5 separate regions of the Homo sapiens genome follow, and regions 2, 3, 4 and 5 are each linked to region 1. The links are contacts of gene promoters, found by promoter capture Hi-C in human tissues and cell types (Jung and others, 2019). All regions are on one chromosome and are shown on one strand. Each heading gives the region's core, a stretch centred on a gene start or on the middle of the fragment in contact. The rest is flanking DNA. Distances are from core to core; before and after follow the strand shown.

Evidence for each region. The method cuts DNA at HindIII sites, captures the fragments that hold promoters and counts their contacts. A contact is called where the count stands out against the background at its distance.
Region 2: a contact is called between a fragment that was not itself captured here and the fragment with the promoter of RGS19 in region 1, in 2 of the 25 tissues and cell types used here (IMR-90 fibroblasts and lymphoblastoid cells).
Region 3: a fragment that was not itself captured here is called in contact with the fragment with the promoter of RGS19 in region 1 in 1 of the 25 tissues and cell types used here (lymphoblastoid cells).
Region 4: a contact is called between a fragment that was not itself captured here and the fragment with the promoter of RGS19 in region 1, in 2 of the 25 tissues and cell types used here (bladder and lymphoblastoid cells).
Region 5: a contact is called between a fragment that was not itself captured here and the fragment with the promoter of RGS19 in region 1, in 2 of the 25 tissues and cell types used here (dorsolateral prefrontal cortex and mesendoderm cells).

Annotation. Positions count from the first base shown.
Region 1 is chr20:64,077,544-64,081,724 of GRCh38, reverse strand. RGS19 (regulator of G protein signaling 19) reads left to right here and starts at 2,207. Exons shown (of 6, transcript NM_005873.3): 1 at 2,207-2,431. It overlaps OPRL1 (opioid related nociceptin receptor 1), which reads right to left and starts at 1,643. Exons shown (of 5, transcript NM_182647.4): 1 at 1,373-1,643. RefSeq lists silencers at 1,059-1,232, 1,626-2,305. The HindIII fragment of the contact is 4,418 bases long and covers 1-2,883 here.
Region 2 is chr20:64,219,863-64,223,874 of GRCh38, reverse strand. It overlaps MYT1 (myelin transcription factor 1), which reads right to left. Exons shown (of 23, transcript NM_004535.3): 13 at 3,893-4,012; 14 at 1,828-1,982; 15 at 702-764; 16 at 516-584. Among named protein-coding and RNA genes, the nearest start is that of PCMTD2, 34 kb to the left of the region's middle. RefSeq lists an enhancer at 1-337. The HindIII fragment of the contact is 5,217 bases long and covers 1-4,012 here.
Region 3 is chr20:64,240,757-64,244,675 of GRCh38, reverse strand. MYT1 (myelin transcription factor 1) reads right to left here. Exons shown (of 23, transcript NM_004535.3): 23 at 2,423-3,919. Among named protein-coding and RNA genes, the nearest start is that of PCMTD2, 13 kb to the left of the region's middle. RefSeq lists an enhancer at 1-115. The HindIII fragment of the contact is 9,977 bases long and covers 1-3,919 here.
Region 4 is chr20:63,912,566-63,916,852 of GRCh38, reverse strand. The region is part of intron 1 of DNAJC5 (DnaJ heat shock protein family (Hsp40) member C5); the gene reads right to left. Among named protein-coding and RNA genes, the nearest start is that of MIR941-1, 4.7 kb to the left of the region's middle. RefSeq lists an enhancer at 4,076-4,287. The HindIII fragment of the contact is 7,543 bases long and covers 1-4,287 here.
Region 5 is chr20:64,259,661-64,263,705 of GRCh38, reverse strand. PCMTD2 (protein-L-isoaspartate (D-aspartate) O-methyltransferase domain containing 2) reads right to left here. Exons shown (of 6, transcript NM_018257.3): 2 at 3,434-3,764. The coding sequence starts at 3,740. Among named protein-coding and RNA genes, the nearest start is that of PCMTD2, 5.9 kb to the right of the region's middle. The HindIII fragment of the contact is 3,110 bases long and covers 915-4,024 here.

The sequences.
Region 1 (4,181 bases), core at 958-3,457:
GTAGAAAGCTCTATGGGAAGGAAGGCATGTGGTCCAAAGCCCAATATATTGAGGGCTGTCAGGGCGCAGAGGGTCCTGGGTTCAAATCCCAGCTCCGCCATCAACTGCCCAGCTCACCTGGCCCCACCCATGGACTTCAGGATGCTGTGTGCCGAGAGGCAGAAGCCAGGGCGGTGGAGAGCAGGCCCAAGGGGCCAGAGGAGACGGGGGAATGACTGGGGGGTTGTAGAGTGACCCGAGGGGGCAGGGAGGGCACTGACCTTCACCCCCTGCCAGCTGCCCACAGCTGCATTTTCCCACAGCAGAGACAACAGGCCGGCTCAGCGGGGTCAGCCTGGTTGTGTGTGGCCTGGGCCAGGTGCTGGCCCATCTTCGTTGAGCTTCCCTGACCTCACCTGTGCCCACCGCTCAGGAGTGTTATGTGGGCTGAATAAGTAGCAGCCTGCCTCTTGTCCCTGTGGGCTTCCTGGCCCCTGCCTTTCCTTGCCTGGCCTGACAACATGGCAGTCACAGGGTTCTGGGTACAGCTTCGAGAGGCAGCCTGTCTGTCCTCCAGGGCCCTCTGACCTCTGACCTCCCCCTTCGGGCCCCCGCCCCCGCTCAGCAGCGCAATACCCTCCCCTCCTCAGCCCTCCCCCCTCTCACCCAGGCCTTCCCTGCCTGCTCCCCACAACTCACTCTGCGCCCCCCAGCATAAGATCCAGGCTGATCTATGTTGCTGGCTTCTGGTCCTACTGCCTGGCCCACAGGGGCACCCAGATACTGATACTTGTCCGTTGAATGAGGAATACAAGTAGAATCTCCAGCTGCCTTTGCACCCCTCAGAGTTCTGTGAAGGTGTAAGGTGTGCACCTGACCTGTGCAACTGGAAGGCATTTTATGAACAGATCCCGACACTGGGAACTATCCGGGTGGAGTGCTTGTGCTGGGGAGGACAGGAGCTGCACACAGCCGGGCCAGGGGAGGGGCGGGGGGCACAGATGCTCTGCAGACACTTCCAGAGCAGGGTCAGGGCCACCCTGACACAGGGCCAAAGCATGCTGCGATGAGAAGCCTAACCCACGTCTGTACCGAGTCATAAAGGATGAGAAGAGTCGGCCAAAGGGACAGGGCGTTCGTGGCAAAGGGGACAGTGTGGCCTTAAGCTTTAGGACATCTTGGGACACACGGGTCAGCAGGGACTCTGCCAGGCCCCACAGGAGACATTCGGCATGACTCCGGATGCAAGAACCCGCACCCCCAGTTCTCCCCAGCCCCGCAGCACAGGAATCTCCCCCTTCCTTGGGAACCCCCCACAGCACAGACAGGCGGCTCTTAACCCAGTTTTACAGACGCGGCTCACGGAGGCGAGGGGTGGGCCGGGCTGGCGTACCCGCCGATCGGTCCTTTGCAGCAGCCTCCTCTTTCCCAAGCTGGGCAAGCAGCATATGGGGCCCAGCTCTCGTGCCTCCACTGTCGTGGAAGTCCCACACGGATGGCAAAGCAGGAACGGCCCCGCCGAGCAGAGTCGGGGGCCACGGCCACACCCCCATCTACTACCGTGCGGCTCCGTCCGCCCGGGAGCCAGGGCTCCACTATGAGCACCTCGACTCTCCGGGCCACCCCCAGGCGACTGTGGGGGCCGACGCGCGGGCGGGGCGGGTGGGGTGCGGAGCCGGCCGAGCGCGGGGCGGGGCGCGGCGGGCGGGGCGGGCCCGGCGACCGCCGGCGCGAGGAAGTCCCGGCCCCTGGCTTTGGGGAAGTGCCGCCGAGGCGCCTGCGCACTGCGCCCCCGCGCCCCCTCCCCGACTGTCGGGCCGGACCTTGGAGCGCGCGGGCCGGCGGCGGCGCGAGTGGCTCGGGAGCGCGGCTGGTGAGTGCGCGCGCGCAGCGCCGGGGACAGCGGCCCTGCCCCTCCCGGCCCGGGCCCGGGGACCGTGCTGGGCGGGAGCTTCGGGAGCCGGCGCACGGGACTCGAACCCCAAGGGCTCCCGCCGCCAGGTCCACGTGGACCCTGGGCCGCAGTGGAAGTGGAGCCCGCCCCCCGCGCGTGGGGGAGGGGGCGCCGCAGCCGGGTTCCCCTTTTTCTGGAGCTCAAAGCCTGGGGAAGTGATTGCTCAAAGGTGGGGGCCGGAAGAACCCAGGTTTCCGCGTCTCCCTCCCCCTCTCAGCCCGGTGAGGAGGGGCCGGGGCGGGACACCCTGTCCGCCCCCGCCCCCACCCCGCTGGATCTGGCAGCCACTCAGCCCTTCGAGCTGTAGGGGAGGCGCTGCGCCCCCGGCCCCAGCCGATCGGGGGCTCCTGGCGCTAGCCTCCCTCCAGAGCGCCGCAGGAGTCCCTCCTGCCGTCTGACTTGAGTCCCTGCTGCTGCAGTGCACGCCCCTTCGGCAGCCAGGGTGGGGCCCAGACCCAACCTGGCCCCTCCTGCCCCCACCCCGCCTTTGGGTCGCTGGTGAGTAGGGAGCTTTGAGGTAGGGGTGGGGGCGTCAGAGGCTGAAGAAAGAGGCACCTGGAGGAGAACACAGGCTTCTCCAGACTGGACCCTAACAGCAGAGAGAGGAGCGTGGTGGGTGGGCCACCACCACCATTTCAGAGGTGGGGAGAGCTGGCCTTCCCTGGAGGGGCCAGGCCAGGGCTCGCCCACCAGCCAGATGTGGAGGGTGGCAGATGGGAAAGGCCCTGGGTAGGAGCTAAGGACTGAGAATGGAGCCCCTCTTCAACCCCCCTCCCAAAGGTTATGACATTTTTTTCTGGGATTGTCACATTTTCTTATTCTTTTTTTGGACTGGGCAGGCTCTGGGACGTTCTTTTTCCTTCTGTGGAGCAAAGCGGCAGCCACTCCCAAGGGATCCTCTATCCCCAGAGAGCAGACGTGCCGCCTATCCAGCCTATCCCATCCCAGACTTGGGGGCCAAAGCCTGGGAGGCTGGGGAAGGGGGTCCCCAATGCCAGGTTGACAAGCAGGAGGACCCTAGTTGAGACTCTGTATCCCCCAGGAGAGACGGGGGGAGGGTAGCCTGGGGACATGGGTTGCCCCAGTTGACCTGAGAAGGGTACAGGAAGCCAGGTCCAGGGACAGGTGACCAGGTCCAGGGCCTGCAACTGGGAAAGAAGGGGCTGGCTCCCTGCTCTGCAGCAAATGCAGCCCCTAGCACCCCGGCCCTGCACCCCTAAACACGTCCCCTCCTCCAGTTCAGAGCTGGGGTGGAGATGGTAGCCCAGGGGGACAGTCTCAGGGGTGCTAGAGTGTGGGGGAGGACCCTGGGTGGGGACAGAGAGGAGGAAGAACTGCTGCCTGGGGAAGCCACAGACAGCCCCGTCTGGGTACAGCTACCAAACCTCAGGTTGCCACGCCCCTTCCTTTCCCTAGAAACTTGACCCCTGAAAGAAAGCCCAGCTGCAGGGCTACTTTCGGTCTCCTCATCTACTTGCTAGGAGCCCGTGGGACCCCCAGTCTCAGAGGAAACTGGGCCGGTGGTGAGGGGCCAAGGTCCCAGGGGATGCTGCACCTGCCCCAGACTTGGGCCAGGGCAGTGGCCTCTGCATGCCCAGGCCTCGGGGGTATTGGGGGCCCTAAGAGTGCAGAACTCCAGCACTGTCTCTTCTGAGGGCCATTCACACACCGTCCCAGGAGGCCAAGAGAAGCCAACCAGCCAGAAACAAGCATTCAAAGGCCACGAGCTAGGGGAGGCGTGGCGGGGGGATGAAGATTGAGAAAATAAAGTAGAATCAAGTTGTGAGCTTCCTGGCCAGGGAGGGTGGCGGCACATGAGGAGGGTGGCGGATGTGCACGGAGGCCCCTCCCTGCCCTGGGCAGAAGTGGGCGCAGGTGTTCACAACTGCCTCCGGGGCACTGATTGGCCCCCCTGTACCATCGCCCAAGGAGACTTGGGATTCGAAGTGGCATCTTAGGTGGCATGAGGGCCACTCACAGCTTTGGCGCTCCTGGTGCACCTCCCCTGCAGACGGTGCAACCAAATGCTGGGAGGGACATGCACCACACCACACCCCCCTCAGGGACTCCGAGGCTTCGACTGGGGAGCAGGGTGCCCCCCACCCCTGCCACCCCCACTTCCCTGGCTGGCGCACCCTGTGGTAGGGCCTTGGTTCCACAGCAGTTTCACAGCCTAGAGGCAGTGGGCAAGGAGGGAGGGAAGTCTTGGGTGGGAGGTAGCAGGACCAAAGAACCATGTTTGGGGGGC
Region 2 (4,012 bases), core at 870-3,369, 140 kb before region 1:
GGGCATCAGGGCCAAGGCAGAAGCAGCTGGAGCGTGACAGGAGAGGGGAGGGGAAGGAGCTTTCTCTTCATTATCAGCGTTCAGTTCATTTAGCAAGAGCCGCACAGCCTGTGGCCTGCCGAGCCACGGCAGGGCTTACGTTCCCTGGTCGGTTCTGGGCTTTTCCCAAATCTCTAGGGCAGTAAGAAAGCAGGCCCAGACAGCCCTGTCGGGGATCTTCAGGAGAGGCTGGAGGGTGGGGGATGGGTCAAGAGCAGCGCAGGAGCCTGCAGCGACCCCTAGCCCCCAGCGGAGAGGCAAACAGCAGAGCTCAGAGCAGGTGCACACAGGCAGAGCAGCCCCAGCCAAGCAGAATCGGCCCCTCCACGGCCCTGCCCCTCTGCCCATCTCAGGAGAGCTGGGGCCAGCTGAGGCTTGGCACCTTGGAGAAGGCTGATTTTGGCAGGAGCCTCATGGAAGGAGAGCAAAGCGAGGGTGCCGCCCAAGAGACAGGAGGTCAGGGAGCGCAAACATACTTGAGGTCAGCAGAGTGGGCAGCCATGAGGTTTCTGAGGCTCTTGTCAGCAAGAGGGCAACCAGAGAGGCTGAAAGAGAAGAGATGGGATATTGGGGTAAGCCAAAGAGGGAGAGCAGAGGAGGAGGAGAGGAGGAAGACCCACCACGAAGCACCCAGGCCAGACGGACCCGAGCAGGAGACAAACCTGCGGTGGGAGGCGTAGTTCCCGGTGATGTGGCCGCTGCCGTCACAGCCAGGGGTGGGACAGCTGGACAAAGGAAAAAGAGTGTCAGACCGGAGAGTGGTGTGTACCTGCCCCCCAGGCTGAGCCTGCTCTGCGAGGGAGACTGGTGCCCACTCCTGGCTCACCCGCGAGCCAAGCGGTGGCCCCTCCTCCACTCAGTCCTTGGAGGACAGCCGGTGCCTCTCAGGCTGGAAGTTTCTCCCACACAACTTAACTCAAGAAGAAAAAGTAACCAAATTAAAGTTGAGCTTAAAGTTAGGATGCCTCTGACGCACATGTGCTGTGTGTGCACGTGTATGTGCCCACGAATATTTAGGCAGAGGAGCTCCTTCCCTTCTCCAGGCCCTGAAGCAAGGCCTTCCCTGGATCCAGCCACTCCCAGGAGGGCAAGCTACAAGTGTGAGGGTACAAGAGGGGTTCAGGTTGGGGAGAAGAGGGACCCCAGAAATGTACTCTGAGCACATGTGAGAGCTGGATCACCTGTGGAGCAGGTGCCAGGCACAGCCTCTCACAGTCCCCTAGGACAGGTGGCTGGCAATGAAGGCTGACCAGAAGGTCATTGACATCTGATTCATATCCATCAGCAACTCTGTCTGTTCCAACCCCATGCGGACCAGCTCAGACACGCAGCCTCTGGGCCAGCCAGGCTGACAGAGTTGAGGGTGGTGAGCCCTAAGGCAGTACATTCCAGGCCTTGGCCATGGAGCCCAGGGCAGAACGTGCCCAGCTGCGGCCTCAGGGAGAGGGCCAGGCCTCTGGGTGCCCCGAGGGCTTCCTGCAGAGCTCTCTGAGGAGCTCTCCTCCACTCTGCCCCTGCCCTGCTCTGTCCTGCTTGGTGAGCTTGGCCAGGGGATTTCTTTGTTCTTAATCACTTTTAGAAGATTGCAGTAAAGCCCAGCACAACACAAAGGTGTTGGGAAACCTCTGAATACCCTGGCTCCTGTCACAGGCTGCCTGGCTCGAGGTGGTCAGGACAGGTCGGGGAAAGCCTGAGCAGACCCGGTCGTCATGGGTTGGGACCAGGGCCTGTTCCTCCCCAGGCCACAGAGGGTCCCCTAGGAGCTGTGCCAGCCAAACAGGGACTTACGTGAGCAGCTCCTTCTTTATGTCCTTGGAGAGAAACTTCAGCTTAAAGTTGGTCAGGGTGACTTCCCCCGGATACTTCCGCTCCTCAAAATTCTCTTCCGACACTTCCTGGTCATCTGCTTCAGAAGAAGCAAAAGAATGGGCTGCTGGCTCTGACTGCAAAAAACCAGCAGGAAGATGTTTTAACCGGCTGGCGGGGAGGCCTGGGCGCCCAACCCAGTGGGCGAGGGAGAGGGACCCTTCAGGACAGTGTCCACAGAAGCATCTCCCGGAGTCTCCTATCTTCTGGATAAGGGAGGAAGACTTAACTCCCCCCAGCAAAACACAGAAGACAACACCCCTGAGGGGCTGGATCCCTCCCCTGCTTCAGCCAGAGGTCCTGCGTTGCCCTAGAAATGAGGCCTGGTGCTGCCCAGTGTGGCAGGCTCCTGACACCCTCCCTGGCCTCCCTCCGCCACATCACTCCGCAGCGTAAACATCAGGATACAGTTCCCTTCAGAGCCAGGGATGGCACTCAATAGACAGTAGGCACTAAATAAGTGTTACCGAAATGCCATGAAGATGAGATGGCACAACGAGGGTAATAACATACAAATTACAACAATCGCAGTAACCTCGAAACCACCTGGCCCGACACGCCCACCAGTGCGATGCCTTGACCACAGCAGGTGCTTGATAAAGGCTTCGAACTGAATGCTGGGTATGGAGGCTCAGAGCTGTGGACACAGATAAGCAGGGCGTAGTCCCTCCCACGGAGGGGCCAGGGGTCCAGGAAGGGTCAGAAGGCCAACATTCTGCAGGATGCTGTAACCAGAGCTCAAAATCCTGTCCTGACAGGCACTCGCATGTGTCCCAGGCAAGTGGCTCAGGCTCTTGGGGCCCAGGTGCCACTCTGTCCAACTTGAGATAACAGCAGCCCCTCAAAGGTTTTTGGGGGTCAAATGAGGAAATGCCCGTGAAGCCCACAGCCCAGCATAATAACAGTCTTCGGATAATTGGACCTCGTTGTGGGTTCCCAGGCTGCTCGTCTATGAAATGGGGTGACCTGAGGGTGGTGTGAGGGCCGGTAAGGAAGTCTGCCTCCCACTGAGGCCGGATTGTGGAGGGGGCCTGATCCAGCCCCCACCCTTCATAGGGGCCTGATCCAGCCCCCACCCTTCATAGGGGCCTGATCCAGCCCCCACCCTTCATAGGGGCCTGATCCAGCCCCTACCCTTCATAGGGGCCTGATCCAGCCCCCACCCTTCATAGGGGCCTAGCCCCACCCCCCTCATTCCTCCTTGAGGGTCTGGCCCTGCTCCTTCCACAGGGACCCCTTCCACCTCCTGAGGGGCTTTGGGGGAGGGGAAGGAGAGGGAGAGGGGCCTGCTAGTCTCACACACGCGGCTGCTGCCGCCTGGACCCTGGGCTGCCCTCACAGCTGGACTTTGCTCTTCAGGACACACACCTCCTTGGGAAAAAGCCCAGAACCGGCTGTGGCCTCGGAGGATTCTTCTTTCACATGTTTTAAGGAACTAAAAAGGGAAGGATCCCCTGCTTCCCAGACCACAGTTCCAGCACCCATGCCAGGTTGGTCCTGGTCTCGGGGACGTAGAACTGCCCACCATGGGCGATCCTAAGCCCAGGTCCTAAGCTCTCTCACTGGCTCTGCCCCTACCCGGACAGCAGGTTAGCTCTGCAGGGTGGTGGGAGGCTCAAAACCCAAGAAACCTGAGCTTTTCCCCAATCAACTCCTGGGATCTGAACGATGCCTTTCTCCTCCCCATGCCTCCACAGTGCCCACGTTGGTGCTGGCCACCATGCTCCACAGGGGTGAGAAGACCACCTCCTTCTTGACAGACAAGGGCACAGCATGACCCTGCTGCTGAAAATCCCACCCAGAGGGTGAGCCCCTGAGTCCCAGCTGCTCAGAAGATGAAGGACCCTTCACGAAAAGGGATGGCTCCCCGAGGCTCTTCCAGAAGCCTGTGAGGAGAAGCTTCCTTGAAAAGCCAATATCACAACAGCCTCAGGCAGGGCAAGCTGGCTGCAGCCGCCTGACTGCTTGCCCAGGCGCCTGCACCCACCTCCTCAGGTTCCTCCTCTCTCAGGCGGCTAGGCTTGGTGTAGTCCAGGGGCCGGTCCCACTCGTCCTGGCGGGAGGCCTGGCTGGACTGGGGAGAGGTCATGGAGCTGCTGGGGGCGCT
Region 3 (3,919 bases), core at 63-2,562, 160 kb before region 1:
TAGCAGGTGCTGGAAGAGGAGAGGCCAGGCTTTAGAAAAGTCAGCACACACGGAGACCTGCATGCTGCAGACACTGAGAGGAAAGAAAGAGAGGCAGAGACAATGGGAGCAGCCAGGAGGGATGGTAGGGTTGGGGTGCAGTGAGGGCCAGAGTGGCTCAGAGCATAGCTCTGCCAAAGGTCAGCTGCCTGGCACCAGCCCAGGCCACCCACGATCATGGATAAGGGTGCCCTTGTGAAGACTTAAGACTCCATTAGAGAAGTCCACACTCCACCTCCATATTTTAAGAAGGACAGAGGGAATGGCACAGATGCTATAACCCCTGGGAGCATGGATGGCCTGTGTTGCAGGATTCACAATCAGCTGACAGTTAGGAAACCCTCCACATCCATGTCTTTAGCAGCCTCTGAGAGGCTACTGGCTTCAGGGAGACAGAGTGGTTAATAGGAAAAATCTCACCTGAACTTGAGGCTTCCCTTACTCATGGGGTGATGTCGACCCAGCACTAAGCTGACTTCCCGTCTGTTCAGGGAGACAGTCGTGTGCTCATCAACTGGAAGCATACCCATTCAGGTAAGGAAAGCAGGTGCACATGTGTATTTACCTTTGTTCTCTCTTACACCTGCCTAAAATGACAGATTTTAAGGCATACATTGGCAGGAGTGAGGAGATGAAAGAGGGGACAACAATGCAATTTAGAAGCCAGAAAATTCACAGATGCAAAATAAATGGCCTAGGAGACACAAAACACTGAATTCTAGCCAGAGTGTAGAAAGTTCAGAGCCAACACCGTCCATACCTCAGAACCCCCAATAACTGGTAGCACCAGATTCTGTTGGAGATGGGAGAAGACAACTGGTAGAAAGTGTTTCGGGAGCCAGTAGCCCCCTTCCCCAGAACTCCACCCCGACTCTGAGAGCCTGGCAAACACTCCCCTCCCTCTGGATGAAACCTTGAGCTTTATCCTCTGGATACAGTAAACAGGAGGGTCTGCAGGCTGGTAGAGAAGGCCTAGCTGTGGGGTCCCATACCAAAAATAAATCCTAAGAGAGCACATGCCTGTGACTTTAGACGCTCTTTCTCTCAGCTCCCAGTAGGCTGGTGGCCCAGCCAGTGCCTCTAAGCGAAAAGTGAGAGAATCTTCTTGGGGGTGACCAGCTCGTGCCATTATCAAACTATGGGATTGTGCAGCTTTCTAACATCATGGTAACAGCCTGTGTCCCCTAGCAGGAACATCATAGTCCCCACCTCTCCAGCCAACTCTCATACCCCCCAGAATGACTTTACCTCAGCTTGCTGAGGGGACACTTCAGAATCGGTCTTGCTCACACCCACCCCAGCATCTGCTGTGCTGACGTGAAGGGGTACAACTCCAGGCCACTGGTCTCCCCATCACAAATGGGGCCTCACCAAAGGGGACCCCCAGGAACCCTTCCTCACAGTTGAACATGTTCTGCATAACCCACCAGTGGGCACTGGCACCTGCTTGGGCCCCCACAACCAGCAGTTGGAGCCTTGAAGGCAGATCAAATGTCCTCCACAGGTGTTGTGGACCCTGTCTGACTACAGCAGAGGGTGGAAACTCAGTCCAGAATTTCTAAGAATTTGTCAGTGAAGATGGATCCTTTGTTTGCATATCAGATGGACGCTCCAGGACTACCACCAGGGCCAGATTCCAGGGAGGTCAAAAGCATGTTGACAGTTTAGGCTGAATGTGACTAGAAGTCCCAAGTCCAGGTCTTACTCTAGGAGCACTAGAGCTCCACCTGACACAAAAGTACGAAAATGAAAAAGGGGAGAAGTCTCTTTTTTTTTTTAAAGCTGGTATGCATTGGCTTTTTGGCCTTGTATACCAGCTTAAAAAAAAAAATAAACCATTGCCTTATATAACTGGGCAGTTCAAGGGTGGAGTGCCTTCAGACATGGCTGGGTCCATGAGCTCTAAAAAGATCATCAGAGAGCTCCCTTTTCCTTCACATCTACCTCCATTGTCAGCTTTGCCCCCCTCCAGAATGTCTGAACTCTCTCCTACTACTGATGGCTTCATCCTGTGGCCAGGAGAGATAGCCCAGGGCAACCCCAGTTCCACACCCCCAAGTCTAACAACCTCAGCAGGAAAAGTTATTCTCCCTGACCCTAAGAGAAGACTCCTGGGAAAAACTTCAATTTGCATATGACTGGTCATGTGGGAAGGGGCAAGATACAATGATTTACACCTTCTAGAAACACACGTGGAGGCGGTGAGGTAGGGTAGTTTCAAAAGGAGATACTGGCTAAGCTGACACCAGAGGGGACCCACGTGTGGTATCAAGGGGAGACCAGAGATGGAAGATTCCCCTCCTGGGCATGTGCTCCCAGGAGGGTGCATGATAGAGCTCACCAAGAATGGAGACAATGTCCTCCCCACAGACCACAGCACCGATTCACAGTCAGAGTGGACTTTTATTAGGAAATCACCCTGCAAACACACCACGGAGTGCTGTGGGTTCAACGCGCTTCCTGAGGAAGGAGGGTCACAGTATTGGAGCTGTCGGAGGGACGGGTGGCACAGCCTGTGAGCCTGGCGGTGACTCGAGGCTGCCTGCGGCCAGCACTCCCTCACAGCAACAGGACTCCACCGCAAGAGCCGACACGCAAACGCGACACGAGAAACACGCCCAAGCACACACATCTGCGCTACACTTAAATAATAATAAATACAGAATTCCATTTGCTGTTATCCGTGCCTGAAACAAAAGGAACCCAAAATGGAAAAAGAAAACCAAAATGTCTTTCTCTCCATTAGACCAAGGGAAAACAAAATCCCCAAATTATCAAAATTCCTCAGTTACAAAATACTTTTTAAAAAAATTCCATTATTAAAAGAATAAATAACAAAATATATAAAAAATAACTTGGTTGCATCAAAATTATAACTAGGAGTTATATCAAGATTTTTTGTGGCCTATATTATAGTCAAATAGTTATTTTTGCTTTGAATTCACTTTTTTCCCCTCTTAGGGTGCCCTGGTGTGGGGTCTAGTTGAAATAGTATAAAATTAATAAATAAAAATGTTAAATAAATAGCAAACGTTAACATAAGAGGCTGTGAATATAAATACTTACATCTTGACAAAATTAAATAATTTACAGAATAATTAAACTAACTACTTTTTAATTTTTTCCAGGAAGTGCAATTTCTCTATTTTTAAATACTAACTTGGAATTGCAGTCACAATTGACTTGGATTCTATTTACACGGTAGGGACATTGTGTTTTTAACACATTAAATTAAAATGTACCCTTTTTTCGCATATTGGATGGATCTAAAAGAAGTGAAACCTTTGTGGTCTCCTGTTAGGAATTTACCCTCTGACCTTGATGATGTCATTGCCACCTCCGTCACCATGGATGCAGAGGTCAAGCTCGGCCATGACCCGGAGAATGTGGCAGTGATGGGTCGGGGGCCTGGGTGGATGCACAGAAGCCAGAGTGGTCCCTAGACGTGGATCCCAGACCCAGGGTCTAAAGGCTGCAGCCCCAGTAGGGAGCTGTGACCCAAGGCCATACACATCTGCACAGCCTCAGCGCCAGCTGCCCCCAGACATTAGGCTGATTTTCAGGAGTCTCCCAGGTTAAAATTCCTTGACCTGACAGGGGCTGCGATGCTTGTCAACTGTCTGGAGTATCCTCTGGGAGGCCTATTCCTAACTTTCCCTCTAGAACAGAGCTTTGTTCCACCCTTAACACAAAACTGAATTAAATGAAAACAGAAAACGCACTTTCTTCATCGGCCCTCACTGAGCACAGACACGCTGCCCCAGGCGTGTCCTCCAGGCCAAGATGCCACTCACACCACCCACCCACCACGCTCACGGCTACCCTCCCAGCCTCGACAGACAAAGGAATACTGTGGTTGCAAACTCCAAAACTTCCCTGA
Region 4 (4,287 bases), core at 1,037-3,536, 160 kb after region 1:
CGGACGTGCAAGTAGGGAAGATATCACTAAATTCTTTTCCTAGCAAGAATTAATACTCTGGGAAAGGAATGCATTCCTGGGGGGAGGTCTACAGAAGGCTGCTCTGGGAGTGCCTGTCTTATGTGGTTGAGATAAGGACTGAAATACGCCCTGGTCTCCTGCAGTACCCTCAGGCTTACTAGGATTGGGAAACCCCACCCTGGTAAATTTTTGGTCAGACTGGTTCTCTGCTCTGGAACCCTGTTTTCTGTTGTTTAAGATGTTTATCAAGACAATACATGCACCGCTGAACACAGACCCTTATCAGGAGTTCCACTTTTGCCCTTTGCCTTGTGATCTTTGTTCTCCTTTTTGCCCTTTGAAGCATGTGATCTTGTGACCTACTCCCTGTTCTTGCACCCCCTCCCCTTCTGAAATCCTTAATAAAACTTGCTTGTTTTGTGGCTCAGGCGGGCATCGCGGCCCTACCGATATGTGATGTCACCCGGGGGGCCCAGCTGTAAAATTCCTCTCTTTGTACTCTTTCTCTTTATTTCTCAGCTGGCCGACACTTATGGAAAATAGAAAGAACCTACATTGAAATATTGGGGGCGGGTTCCCCCGATAACCAGGCATGATGGCTCATGCCCGGAATCCTAGCACTTTTGGAGGCTGAGGAATGCAGATTGCTTGAGGCCAGGAGTTTGAGACCAGCCTGACCAACACGGCAAAACCCCATCTCTACTAAAAATACAAAAATTAGCCAGGCATAATTAGCCAGGCATGGTGGTGCACGCCTGTAATCCCAGCTACTTGGGAGGCTGAGGCAGGAAAATCGCTTGAACCCAGGAGGCAGAGGTTGCAGTGAGCCGAGATCGCACCACTGCCCTCCAGTCTGAGTGACAAAGCGAGACTCTGCCTCAAAATATTAATAATAATGACATGGGTTTGTATTTTATGTTCTGTGATTTCCTTTACTAGCTAGTCACTTTTGTTGTAGTTTACAAAAATATCATCAGTCTGTGACACTGGAAATTTTAAAAACTTAAACCTTGTCCTTCAGCACAAACAGTCGAGGAAGAATTCTTCTGGTGTATACCTAAGAGTGGAACTTCTGGGTGCCCAAGAATGGGCAGGCTCAGCCTGAGGCGGTGTGCCAACTGCTCTCTGAGGACTGCACCAGTGGCCACTGGAACTTAGGGCTCCCTGCCATTCCTGCAGCCTCAACAATGACTGGTACGGCCAGGCTCCCCAGTGCTTGCCTGGCCTGATAAGGGTAGGCGTCTCCAGCCTACCTTCAAGGCCGTTCTGTCTGTGGTGCCCAGTGGACATATCCAGGACACCGACCCTTCACTGGTTAAAAATGTTACAAGTATCTTCCAGTTCACAGTTCTTTTTTTACTTATTATGGTGTGTCTTTTGATGAGCACAAGCTTTTTTTTTTTTTTTTACCAATTGTAGTAAAAAACATATAACATTAAATTCAGCATCTGAACCGTTTAAATGCCCCAGTGTTCACTACACGCCCGTCGCTGAACAACAGCCCTCCTCCAAGTCACCTTTGAGGTCACAGAATATATTACAGCTTTCTGAATCTCTCAATCTGTTTTTCCCCTTTTTTGTTCAAGAAATCCTTCCTGACCCTAAGGTCCTATTCTATCTTCTGACACTTGTCACCCACAGGAATCTGCTTCATCAGGAGTTGGCCTGGGCTTGGCAAGAGATACGGACCAGCTCCTATCTGCCTGAGGCCCACCCAGTGCCCCAGGTCCCAGGAGCATCCATGGAGCAGCCCGTCTCTCCCTGGGACCCACAGGTGCCTCTGGCTTACTGCAAACCTCCACGCAGGAGGCCTATCAGGGGCTCTCCATTTTGCTCCATTTTGAGCGTTCTTTATTTAAAAACCTCTGAAATTATCTGAGGCCATTTCCAAAACTTTTACAAAAGCTACACACTCTGGCCGGGCGTGGTGGTTCACACCTGTAATCCCAACATTTTGGTAGGCCGAGGAGGGCAGATCACCTGAGGTCAGGAGTTTGAGACCAGCCTGGGCAACACAGTGAAACCCCATCTCTGCTAAAAATACAGAAATTAGCAGGGCGTGGTGGCAGGTGCCTGTAATCCCAGCTACTCAGCAGGCTGAAGCAGAAGAATCGTTTGAACTAGGGAGGTGGAGGCTGCAGTGAGCCAAGATCACGCCACCACACTCCAGCCTGGGCGACAGAGCGAGACTCCATCTACCAAAAAAAAAAAAAAAGGCCGGGCACGGTGGTTCATGCCTGTAATCCCAGCACTTTGGGAGGCCGAGGCGGGTGGATCACGAGGTCAGGAGATCGAGACCATCCTGGGTAACGTCGTGAAACCCCGTCTCTACAAAAAATACCAAAAAAAATTAGCCAGGTATGGTGGTAGGCGCCTGTAGTCCCAGCGACTCGGAAGACTGAGGCGGGAGAATCGCGTGAACCCAGGAGGGGGAGCTTGCAGTGAGCGGAGATCGCGCCACTACACTCCAGCCTGGGCAACAGAGCAAGACTCCGTCTCAAAAAAGCTAAAAATTCTTTGGCATTTCTAACCACATCATAGATAATAGTACTTAAAATAATATTTCAACATAAGCATTCCATTATGAAGCCCAGAAGGGTTTTAACAACAATTACAAGGTAAACCCTGTGGGTCACAGCACCTCCACGGTTCTGAGTTCTGGGCTGTAAGGACTGAAGTCTGGGCGCCACTTTCACCAAGAGACAGAAGCAGGCGTCAGGGCTGCTCTAAGGTACTCGGCCAACGGTGAGCGTCCCGGCTTCTCACTACTGCCTCGCTCTCTCCCCAGCCTCCTGTGGTCCCCCCAAGATGGTGGCTGGGCAGGTGGCCTCAAGAGACACTGCCTGAGGGGTGGGAGGATGGAGTGCTCAGAGAGAGACATTCCAGGCCACAAAGATCACACATCCTGCAATGGACGGTCTGAATATACAGATGCTAAGAAGGTGGCTGTTAGGGCCTGGCGCGGTGGCTCACGCCTGCAATCCCAGCACTTTGGGAGGCCAAGGTGGGCGGATCCCCTGAGGTCAGGAGTTTGAGACCAGGTGGTCAACATGGTGAAACCCTATCTGTACTAAAAATACAAAATTAGCTGGGCGTGGTCGTAGGTGCCCGCAATCCCTACTGTAAGCTACTTGGGAGGCTGAGGCAGGAGAATCACTTGAACCCAGGAGGTGGAGGTTGCAGTGAGCCAAGATGGCACCACTGCACTCCAGCTTGGGCAACAAAGAGACCCTGTCTCAACAATAAATAAAAAATAAAAATACAAAAATCAGCCAGGTATGGTAGTGCACGCCTATAGTCCCAGCTACTCAGAAGACTGAGGCGGGAGAATCACTTGAACCCAGGAGGCAGAGGCTGCAGTGAGCTGAGACCGCACCACTGCACTCCAGCCTGGGCAACAGAGCGAGACTCTGTCTCACTAAAAAAAAAAAAAGAAAGAAAAAAAACAGGCTGTTAGGAACCCTGGACCCTGGGGCAAGGGGAACAACTCTAGAAAGAACAGATGACGTCTGAGGAGAAGCGGGAGGAGAGGGAAGGAGACAACAGGTGCTGCGGACTGCAGGGAGTGGGGCAAAGACAAGTCACCTAAGGAAACAAAGGAAACACGGAGGAACTACCAAGAGCGACAGTCACACTGGGATGGGGAAGACACAGCAGGGGCTGGGTCAGCAAACGGGCATGACACAGCACAGGGAACTGCAAAGAAGGCACCAGCAAACACCTCTGGGAGAGACAGTGCAGACAGGGAGATGGAGACGGGGCAGGGAACTACCTCTTTGCTCTAGATGCCCTTGGCTCATTCTATACAAAAAAAAAAAATTGCTAAAAATACAAATACGAAAAATAAAATACAACTGGCATTTCTTTTATCCTGCTGGGGAATCTTAATTTAAAATCTGTGATGAACCATGTAAAAACTGACTGCCGGCCGGGCACGGTGGCCAAACCTGTCATCCCAGCACTTTGGGAGGCCAAGGTGGCCAGATCACGAGGTCAGGAGATCAAGACCATCCTGGCCAACATGGTGAAACCCCGTCTCAACTAAAAAATACAAAAATTAGCTGGACGTGGTGGCAGGCGCCTGTAGTCCCAGCTACTCGTGAGGCTGAGTCACAAGAATCGCTTGAACCCGGGAGTTGGAGGTTGCAGTGAGCTGAGATCACGCCACTGCACTCCAGCCTGCAGCCTGGGCGACAGAGCGAGACTCCGTCTCAAAAACAAACAAACAAAAACCTGACTGCCAAAGGATACTCAGACAGGTAGGTC
Region 5 (4,045 bases), core at 1,220-3,719, 180 kb before region 1:
CATGGGAGCCTTTTGGGGTGCTGATTCAACTCTGCATCTTGCTGTGGCTGGAGTTTATATGGCGGTGGATGCATATGTAAAAGTCCACCAGAATTCACACTTCACACTTGTTCATTTACTATGGGTAAGTTACACGTCAACTTTTTAAATCTACATGTAAAAATCACAAGGCACGTAGGACTTTACTTGGTAGACAGATATACTACTACAGTGATCATGTAGCACTGGACCCTACAATCTAACAGAAATGCTAAGAAATGGGCAACCTTCTGTGCATCCCACACCTTTGCACCGTGTGGGCCCTCCTAGTACAACAGCCACCAGCCCAGGCCAAGGCTTCCCTGGCCCCCATTTGGACAACTGTACCTGCTGCTCTTTTCTCTCCACGTATTTCATACACAGAGCTGCTGCTAAAACATTACCTCGTCAAAATACACCCTACCTGAGAGTTCCCCTTTTCACTGTTTACAACATCAAATCCTGAATTACTCTGAACGTCAAGACCTTCTGACAACTCCGACTTCAATTCCCGACTCTGCCAGAGACCAAAAATAGCGCTTGATTCTTCCCACTCATCTTATTTTCACTGACCCCTCACCTTCACTATCAAACACTTAATAAGCAGTTAATTCTAGTAACAGATATGAGATATGGTTCCTATTCCCAAGAAGCTTAACACCAAACAGTAGTAACACAAATACCTCGACCCACCTGCTTAATACAAAGATGACTAGCAGGGGAGGAGGACACAGGGTGGCCGGGGGGTGTCAGGAACACGGCACCTGGGACTCAGCACTGGAGCACGGCATGAAACCAGAGCAGCGAGGCCCCCCTGGCAGAGCCGCTCCTAGGTCTGCCCTGCTTCCGAATCACCCAGCACTTTTCAGGTAGGTGACTTATGAGCCACCATCTCTTAGTAGCTACTGTATTCTCCCCTGGTTGATGACAAACAAAGGTAAGGACAGCCCTGAGCAAAGGGGAGAGGAGCCCACAGAGCAAGCACAGGAACAGGGCTGACCCAGGATGCCGCTCAGGCCATGCGAAAGGCAGTCGGGGGTCACAGTAAAGAACTCCGTCAGATGAGAGACCCACATCCACAGGCGCCGGGAAGCCAATGAGGTTTCACTCTGGAGTGCTCTGCACCAAGTGCTATTAAGCTTGAATAAAAGCTGCAGCATCTGGAGACACAGCCAAGACACGCATCCATGACAGCAAACCCTGAAGTCACTTCCTTCAACTGCATCAAAGCAGCATGTTACATCCATTACAGCAGAAAACAGGCCTTTCCTTCCTTCAGACCTCTCTCCTCCCAAAATCCAATGAAATTTCCAGTAAACAGGGGATTCAGGAAAGAAAAGCAACTGTATCAAGTTGGAAGGCCTTTCCTTATAACTTCTAGGGGATGTCAAGTACAGCAAGGCCATTTCAGGCTTACTTTTTTTTTTTCTTTTTGAGATGGAGTCTGGCTCCGTTAGCCAGACTGGAGTGCAGTGGCACCATCTCTGCTCACTGTAACCTTCGCCTCCCAGGTTCAAGTGATTCTCCAGCCTCAGCCTCCTGAGTAGCTGGGATTATAGGTGTGCACCACCACACCCAGGTACTTTCTTATACTTTTGGTAGGGACAGGGTTTCACCACGTTGGCCAGGTTGGTCTTGAACTCCAGACCTCAAGCCATCTGCCTGCCTCGGCCTCCCAAAGTGCTGAGATTACAGGCGTGAGCCACCACGCCCCACCATTTCAGGCTTACTTTAAGTCATCTTTTCCTAAGCATTTTGGCTCTTTCCTATAGTATTTCTAATCTAGTCAGCTTGATCACCTATTTCTCCCCAAGGTTCTACCTTAGCTATAGCCCCTATTTTTCAGCTACGTTGGAGGAAATCACAATTCCCAAATTCAAAAATGATAAATAATCTGGGCACTGTGTTCTCTTCTCAAAGCACAGGGATCACAACAGTCTCAATTGAAGAGAAGTTACGGTCAAAAAGCATTATAAAAATCTACACACTTTTACACCTGAAGGTAGCAATCTATAGCATAAAGCCAAAATAATCGGTCTCAAAACTTCACCAAATTCCAATTTATACAGACTTAGAAAAAAAAAACAAAATTATCATTCCATATCCACAAAAATCAATTATAGACGGAGTCTCACTGTCACCTAGGCTGGAGTGCAGTGGTGCAATCATAGCTCACTGCAATCTTGAAGCGATCAAGCGATCCTCCGACCTCGGCTTCCCAAAGGGCTGGGATTACAGGCATGAACCACCAAGCCAAGCCACATTCCTGACGTTTCTTTCACAAGCATATACAGTCCACCCGTAAATCCTGTCAGTTCTAACAGGATTTAGAAAAAATACAGACTCCAGCTTCTCTGCACTGGTTTCATCCAGCGTCTTCTCAGCCAGCTTTGCCTCAGCAGCCTGGCCCCTGCTTCCTGTTTACAGATCAGCTCCTATCACCCCTCCGGCAAAACTTTTCCACCCTACTGAGTTAAAAACAGATGCCTTCCCCGCCCCTCACAGCATTTGGCACCAAGTGATGTTTTTCCTTAGTTATCTGCTATTATTAAAAATAGCCATATTTCCATGTGCAGTCTCACAACTCATTTGTTTGGAAAATAGGCTAAATAGCTTCATAGTGAAATCCCTTCCATCCCTGAAACTAATTTTAAAATCTACAGGTATTACTCTTAGTATTAAAACAAAAAAGTAGGCCAGGCATGGTGGCTCATGCCTGTAATCCCAGCACTTTGGGAGGCTGAGGCAGGTGGAGAGCTGGCGCCCAGGAGTTTGAGACCAGCCTGGGAAACATGGCGAGACCCCGTCTCTAAAAATCATTTAAACATCAGCCAGGGGTGGTGGTGCGTGCCTGTGGCCCTAGGTACTCAGGAGGATTTGCTGGATCCCAGGAGGTCAAGGCTACAGTGGGCCTTGCTCGTGTCACGGCACTCCAGCCTAGACGATGGGGCACAACTGTCAAAAAAAAAAAAAAAAAAAAACCAACAAAACAAAAACTGCTTAGAAGTACTCCGAAAGGACTTTCAAGTTAATTACCATCGATTTAGAGAAGGAGTGACAAGGAAGAATGAGTGATAAAATTAAATCGAGAAATCACAGTGGGGTCAAGATTTACACAACTGTCTTTATCCTCCGCTGTCCAGAGGGCAGGTGCGCAGTACAGGCTGTGGCAGCACAGGAAGAGGGGACAGAGAACAGGAGAGGTCCCTCTGGAGAATCCGGGGCCCATGAGATGCATGCAGGCCTTCCTCCCTCATCCCTCTATCCACCACCCAGTGATGTGTCAATGTCAGATAACTACTGGGAAGGCTGCGGTCTCGACCCAGGCAGGCCATTAGCAGACTACATTTTCTGTCAAAGGAGATGCCTCCTTCCCTGAGACAGATGAGTTTTCAGACTCTCCTTCCACACTTACCTAGAATGAGGCCCACCATGGAGCTGAGATACCCAGTGCCACTGCCCAGGTTCAGAAACGAGAGTCCAGGCTGCAGATCTAGGGCTTCCATCACCTCCGAGTAGATGCACGGGGCTGAGAGGTGAATGTTTCCATGCTTCCATGCCAAGTCTTTATAAGCATTTTCTTTAAATTCTTCAAGATAATAGTCTGCACGATCGATAGCTCTGAAAGCCTGCTCTACCAGCTCAGTCCGGATATACTGTGCTTCTTTCAAATTATCTATCAGCTCATCATTGTCTTCACCAGCACTCACAGCACCGCCCATGTTCAAGATTACACTTAGGCAATACTATAATTAAAAATGTTTAAAAAGAGCGATTTATGTTAAAGGTAAGAGCAGAACAATAGAAGTTCTAAACAGATACCAATTTGAAATTCTGAATTCTGAAAATAATAGATTATCTTTTGTCAACACCCACCTCATCCCCTGCCCCACCCAGAGATGCCAGATTTAGAAGGAAAAAAAATCCCAGTTCAATTGGAAATTAAGGTAAACAACAATACTAAAAGTTATTTGACGTTTATTTGAAATTCAAATTTAGGCCGGGTGCGGTGGGTCATGACTGTAAT